Regions from separate parts of the Homo sapiens genome. Here region 1 is linked to region 2. Evidence: promoter capture Hi-C in 16 types of primary human blood cells and fetal thymus (Javierre and others, 2016). All regions are on one chromosome and are shown on one strand. The core of a region is centred on a gene start or on the middle of the fragment in contact, and the rest is flanking DNA. Distances in the headings are between cores, read along the strand shown. Region 1 holds the start of CNOT4 (CCR4-NOT transcription complex subunit 4). Region 2 holds the start of SLC35B4 (solute carrier family 35 member B4).

The links. The method cuts DNA at HindIII sites, captures the fragments that hold promoters and counts their contacts. A CHiCAGO score of 5 or more calls a contact.
Region 1: a contact is called between the fragment with the promoter of CNOT4 here and the fragment with the promoter of SLC35B4 in region 2, in 1 of 17 cell types (non-activated CD4 T cells). The highest score is 7.3, in non-activated CD4 T cells.

The regions. Positions count from the first base shown.
Region 1 is chr7:135,508,327-135,511,722 of GRCh38, reverse strand. CNOT4 (CCR4-NOT transcription complex subunit 4) reads left to right here and starts at 1,621. Exons shown (of 12, transcript NM_001190850.2): 1 at 1,621-1,834. RefSeq lists enhancers at 926-1,095, 1,246-1,365, 741-1,645, 1,676-1,875, 1,646-2,551 and a silencer at 1,436-1,675. The HindIII fragment of the contact is 7,472 bases long and covers 1-3,396 here.
Region 2 is chr7:134,315,674-134,319,294 of GRCh38, reverse strand. SLC35B4 (solute carrier family 35 member B4) reads left to right here and starts at 2,365. Exons shown (of 10, transcript NM_032826.5): 1 at 2,365-2,620. The coding sequence starts at 2,544. RefSeq lists an enhancer at 1,845-2,574 and a silencer at 2,655-2,824. The HindIII fragment of the contact is 10,331 bases long and covers 1-3,621 here.

The DNA of each region.
Region 1 (3,396 bases), core at 372-2,871, 1.2 Mb before region 2:
TTAATTTTTACCCAAGTAACTGTTGTCTCTAGGTTTATAGTGAGGAAACTGAAACACAGAAAACCAATGTACCAAAAGAATGAGGCCGGGTGCCCTGGCTCACGTCTGTAATCCCAGTACTTTGGGAGGCCGAGGCAGGCAGATTACCTGAGGTCAGGAGTTCGAGACCAGGCTGACCAACATGGTGAAACCCTGTCTCTACTAAAAATATAAAAATTAGCCTGGCGTGGTGGCACGTGCCTGTAATCCCAGCTACTCGGGAGGCTGAGGCAGGAGAATCACTTGAATCCGGCAGGCGGAGGTCGCAGTGAGCCGAGATCGCGCCACTGCACTCCAGCCTGGGTGACAGAGCTAGACTCCGTCTCAAAAAAAAAAAAAAAGAAAAAACAATGAATTGAGGGCTTATTATGAAATTAAGTTCGTAAATTTAAAACTGCAACCTCTTTCCCTACTCCCCTTCCCTGCTTTAAGTTTTTAAAATCGGTTATGACATACTATGCATTTTAATCACGTATTTTTAAAATAATGCCTCTTCTCTCCTCTTCCTCATCCCAACACATCACTAGAATAGGGACAGGGAATTTTTTCTATTTTGCTCACCATTGTATTCTCAATATATAGAAGAGTACCCGGCAGCTAGGAGGAGCTCATTGAGTATTTGCTGTATGAGTGGGTGAAGAATACATGCAATAAGCAAAAGTTACTGCTTCGAGCGCCACTTCCACCAGAGTTCTGGGATGCAAACGGGGCGACCAGTACATTGACTGACTTTTGTGACTGATGATTCCTCAGTGCTCGTAGGGATTGTGGCTGCATTTATTGTTCTTGGGGATGTGCCGATGTGTGTAGTTTGTAAACTTGCACACAGCTGTGCTGGCTGGACACCGAACTAACACTAATTTGCACCGAGGTCCGCAAATTCTCAAATTCACACCAACAGAAGCACGTTATTGTAAGTGCACGGGTGTTCCGTTCTCTTGGGTAATCTGCACAGAACAATTTAGTGTATGTCTTCACTGGTGATTTTACAGTGAAGAAGGGATCAAGGGTGGTGGCCCCAAATGCGCAAGGACAGGGAAATGAATTAAACAGGCGCCTGTTTCCTCCTTGTTCGCAAACAGACGCCAAGTCTGTATCAAATTCTCACCCTGGATCAAATCCCGCGCTCTTCGTACCCACAACCTGCCTCCACCTCCACCCCGCCCCCTTTAGATATCCCTGGTGGGCGGGGCAGAGAATAAACATTCCGGGCTCCCCGAAAAACTGTTTAGCCTCGCCCCAGTCTTGGGGTAGCACATTTCCGCAAACACCGAGGACACGGAATCACTAGTGAAAACCGCCGACCAAATGACATTGAAGCAGCACACGCGTGCAGAGAAGGAAGCAAAACACGAAGAAAGGCATCAGTCCAGCAGCCACGTGAGGTGGGCGATCCCCTCCGCCCTCTGAGAGAGGACTTCAACTCCCGGCGTGCCCCTGGGAGGTTACCCTCCGAGGACTTCAACTCCCAGGGTGCTGCGGGAGCGGCCACCGCAACCTCCCACTCAGCCGCCCGCCGCTCCTCCCGCCCCTCCCCCGCCCCTCCTGGCCGGATCAGCGTGCGCCTGCGCACGGGAGGCCGGAGGAGTCTTACCCTAATGTAAGATGGTGGCCCGTCTGGCTGTGGAACCCACCGAAAGCTGAGAGTCTCTCTCTCAGCCGTAAAGGTCGGACTCGCTGAAGCAATCAGGCCCGGTTCTGAAGAGTTTTTTCCCCGACGCTCGTTCGGTGGTTTCTTGTGAGGACGCGGCAGCCCGTGGAGTCGGCTGAGGGAAAAGCGAGGCAAGGCAGGCGGGTGAGTCTATGCGGGGCTGGGCTTAGGGGAAACCCGGGGCTGACCGGCTACGAGAGAGCGGAGGCTTCGCTGGGACTGTACAGGCCGCACCCCCCTTTCTCCCCACCCCCCGCCTCATCTTCACCCTCCTCCTCCTTGGTCTTCTTCCTCCTCCTCCTCTTCCTCCCTCTCCCCTTTACGCCACAGCAGTTACCATAAGGAAAAGGGAGCGGGTCAGAAGGCAGCGCGGCGGCAAGCAGCGACTCTCCTTCGAGAATTTCTTTAATTGGGGAGCCGAGGCGGCTTTTGGTCTCCAGCTTTTCCCCCTGCATTTTCACCGGGGCAGGATTCTTAGGTCTCAGCCCTCCTTGTTTCCCCAATCCCCTGTTCCCTGTCTGACGTCCTTTCCCTCTGGCCCCCGTCTCCCAAGACCAAAGCCATCACTTCCACTCTGATCCGTGTTGGCTGCTGCTGCTCATTAATCCCACTGCTCATTGCCCACTCGTCCTGCTGCTTGTTTTTTTGCTCCACTGCTACCACTCTGGAGTTAGCCTTTGCCCCCCTCTGGTGCTTGCAATCAGCCCACAGTGTATCTGCCACACTAGAGCTGCTTCCGATTTGCAGTCTTTCCTTCCACCACATCTGTCATCTTAAAGCTGCCCCTTAAGTATCTAGATTATGCTCCTCCTGCTAACCCACCTGTTTCTCAGCCTTCTTGAGAATTGTCCGTTCCTTCCCTCTTTCCTGTACAGATCCTTTCAATATACACTTCCAGAAAAAGGGAAGCCCCGTGGTGGCCCTTGAAAAGTAAAAGGAAGTTGGGAAGTGAATGAAGTGAGGTAGGATACTATTAAACGTTATGAGTGAAGATCTTTTATTCAGGCTACTCCGGAGAGGACCGTTTTCGTTTTGCTTTCTGTGATCTATTTGTCGCTTATTCGCTCTGTTGTGTTAGGACTTGGCTTTTTTTCTTTTTTTTCGTTTTGGACCGGTTTTATCATGCTACTAAGCGTTCTTTGGATTGCCTCTCCCCAGGACACTTAGTGTGGGCCCTGATTTATACCAATAAATATTAACCCCAGCATTACAAAATAAGATAAATCTGGCGCACATACAGAATTCATCTGTGAACTCCGCTAGCAAATATAAGTGATATTTTGATTACATGTGGGTTATGTGTGGGTTCTGTATTGAGGCTTGATTTTTGACTGAGTTTTATTGATGTTCAGCTTAATTGATGACATTTTATTTATGATTTGAGTGGAAATTTCCTCTCCAGTTAATATCAGATTTTCTTCTTATTTTTGGATTTGGGAAGTTCTCTTGACATTTCTAGGATGATAGTTATCAGAATAAATTGTCTTGTCTTGAAAATCCATTAGTTATGTATGCAAAAGAAAAATCGACATTTTTATATAAACCTAAGTTCCTCGTATTTTTCTCATAGAAAAGAAGGGGGCTGGGAAAAGAATGACAAAGCTGTGCACATACATGCATTTGGTGGAACTCACTGTCATTGTTATCTACAGTAAAAAGCAGAAAACTGGAAGCAAGAGGTGGCTTATGATGTCCATGTTTTGGTG
Region 2 (3,621 bases), core at 1,116-3,615:
GTCATCACGGCTCTCAACAGGACTGCTTTTAATACCCTGGCATTGATCAGAGTAGTTTAAGAAGCTGATTGGAGATTTAACAAGTAGAGACTACGAATGTAGATTACTCTTTAAAGAGAGTTGATGGTAAAATGAGGGAGGAAGAAAGATAAGTTAGTTTCTTTGAGCATGATTTTGGTCTGAGAACAGGTTTGCTAGCAAGAGTTCTCTGAGCAAATGAGAGGGGAGGATAGAGAGGTCTTCAGAGTTAATGATTTTACAGGCTTCTGCTCTCCAAGTGCAGTCAACAGGTCAGTAGCACCAGCATCACCTGGGAGCTACTTAGAAATGCAGAATCTCAGGCCATGCTGCAGGCCTAGTGAATCAGAATCTGCATTTTAACAAGATCCCCAAGTGATTAACATGCACATTAAATTAATACTCACTGCAGTAGGTGAAGACAGAAATGTGGAGGAAGGAAGAAAGATACAGAACTCTTGCAAATATTACAGTACTCAGGCCATTTTTTTCTTGTGCAATCACTTAGACATGCTTGGGTTTTTATCTGAGATGTAATGAGAAATGTTTAGAACATCCTTTAAGGGCTTCCAAATTAGTGGCATATATGGAAAATGAAGGTCTGTGTGAAGAGAAATCACCTCTAATGAAATCCAGATGAAAATCCAGACCAGCTTCCTGTTGGCAGGATTATTGATAGTGGAGGTGGAGATATTATCATTGCTTCAGCCTCACTCCCAGATAGTCCACTTTACTTGGTCTGAGGTAGAACTGGTACTATTATATACCTGTATATATACCAGTTATATATATATATATATGTGTGTGTGTATATATGTGTATATGAATATAACTGGTATATATACGTGTATATATGTATATATAATTCATTGTTTAATGTGCCAGCACTGTGCAAACTCAAGACGGGTGCTCATTAAATACTGAATTTCACAGGTAGTAGGCTTTCTATTTATGTTAGTTCTTCTTCCTACTCACCTTTTTAAGGCAGCAGTTCTCAAATTCTAGAATGCATTAGAATTAGAACGTGGAGTGCTTGTTAAAAATACAAGTTTCTAGAACCCATACACAAGGATTTTGACTTGGTAGGTCTAAAGCGAGACCCAATAATCTGCACTCGATAACGAGTACTTCAGATGATTCCAATGTGATCTCCCAGTCACGGACTGGGAAAAAAGCATTCCAAACTATTTTGTAGATCTCGAGAAAGACTTCAGAATGTTCGTGTCTCACAGGAAATAGCAAAAACAATATAGCATTCCAAAATCCTACCTAGCTTTGTACCGTGTACTTTGCTATTGCTGTTGGATTCAATTACAACGGAAATATTTGATGTGGTAAAATACTGAGCAGTGATGCTAACCTTTTATAGTAGACACTGGGAAGCAGAAAGGAAGTGTAAACACGTTTCCCTTAAAAACTAGTCTTGCTGGGTGGATAAAGTGTGCATACCTATTTTACAAATAAAGAATAGTGCCGCACTAGCTTATGTACGTAATATGTGCTTAACAAACATTTGTTCATTGAGTAAGTAAGAGTCAAGTCGAATGGCTCAGATTGTAAGTGCTATGAGAATTCCACTGTAAGAAGAGGGAAGTATGCCTTCTTTTCACCATTAAAGATCTGATTGCTGATATTGGCATTTTTGCCAGTAGAAGAGCCTGGACGTTGGCAGTTTTCAAAGCCCCCAGGTGATTTGACTGCGCAGCTAAGTTTGAGAACCACGGAGGTAAAGGAAGGGAGTACCTTAAAGAGCTAGGATTAGGGATAATATCAATAGATCACCTTTAAGGCTGCACCTCAGCCTAATTAAATCAGAATCGCTGGGGGTGGGACTTGGCTATCAGTCATCTTTAAAGCTCTCCAAGTGATTCCAATGTACAGACGTGGTTGAGAGCCATTGCTTTACTTGAATTCTCAGTGGTTCTTAATCCTGGCAGCATAATAGAGTCACCAAAGATACATATATATATATCAGTTCAGGAAGCAGAGTTGTTTCAGATGCTAGAACACCTCCAACGAGCAGTCACAGCTCTGTAGTTCTAGTGCCGCCGCTGCCAGCAAGTTTGTTGTGACCCTGGCGGCCGAGTTACTTTCAGCGCTCTGGGCGGTCTCGCAAGAAACACTGACGCTTTGGGACTTCATTTCCCAGCAAGACCCGCGGCCGCCTATCGCGCGAGTCATGCCGGGCACCTCGTCCCCCTGTCCTCTCTGGCGGAGCTGCCTGGCGGAAGCGGGAACGTCGCATCCTGAGGTAAAGGTGCACGGCATCCTGGGACATGTAGTCTGGCCGGGGCTCGGACGCCCCCTCGGATGAATGGGACCGAAGCTGACTGCGAACTACAGCTTCTTGGCAGCGTCGGTGTTGGCCGCGGGAGAAGGGGAGACCGCGGCGGCCCCCAGTGAGAGCGGCTTTCCAGGACGGTGCGATGTGCTGCGCAGCGAAGAGGCAGGAGGCCGGCTTCCTGGGGTAGCGGTACAGGCGGGCGCTTACTCTGTGCGCTTGCTTCCCCAACCCTGCACCGGCCATGCGCCCGGCCTTGGCGGTGGGCCTGGTGTTCGCAGGCTGCTGCAGTAACGTGATCTTCCTAGAGCTCCTGGCCCGGTGAGTGACCCGCTCGGGCCGCACCCGGTCTCCCGGGGCGGGGCGGAGGAAGCCAGAGGAGAGGTCCCCCCGGGACGCGCCCACGCCCTGTCCCCACCCCGCCGCCCACGGAGCCCGGGGCAGGACGGCCTGAGCCCCCCAGCAATCCGTCCTGTCTGGGCAGCCTGGGACCCCGCTGAGTCCGCTGCTTCCCAAAACTGCGCACCGGCGGCAGTCCCGCCTAACAGTTTCAAAGCATTCCTGCGAGGGGAAGACTCAGGGTGTTGCTGTCGTCACCCCTTTTCCACACTCGGGGGGTATTGAAGTCTGAAGAGTTTTTCACATGACCAGTCCAAGGTCGGCAGAGAGCTAGTGTCAGAACCAAGGTTCCTTCACCAAACCACTCTCTCTTCCTTCCCATCCAACTCTAGCTCTTTTTTCGATCCTGTTAAATGGCACAGGCTGGACTTGAGCAAAGGTTTTTGACTTGTAAAGCAGTCTGACTTTGTACATACTGCAAAGAAAGTTTTATTTTTATTACGGCATCCTGCAAAGCATTTGCTTTATTGGCCTTGGAAATGGTTATGAGTACTTTGCCCAAACATACATAAATGATGCGGTAGAACAGATTTTTATGTAGAAGATCAGTCCACGTGACCCGAGAGTGCTCTTTGAGGTGGCTTGCAAAAAGACAAAAAAAAAAGCAAGTAGAAGATTGGTCCAAGTGACCTGAGAGGGCTCTTTGAGGTCACTTTGAATGTGCAAAGTTCAGTGGATAGAAGCTATAACAGAAGAGACAACAGGTGGTGTGGAAAAGCCTCCAGGACTAAAAAGCTGGGTTGTGAATTTCACTCTTGGCTCCGTCGTCCACTGGCTGTGTAGCCCTTCAAGTCACTTAGCCTCTCTTGGGCTCCTTTTCCTGGCAGTAAAACAATACCTATAGTGTTCTCTAGCTCGTGTTTCTGAATCTATACATTACAAGTTGAGTATCCTTCATTTGAAATGCTTGGGAACGGGTGTTA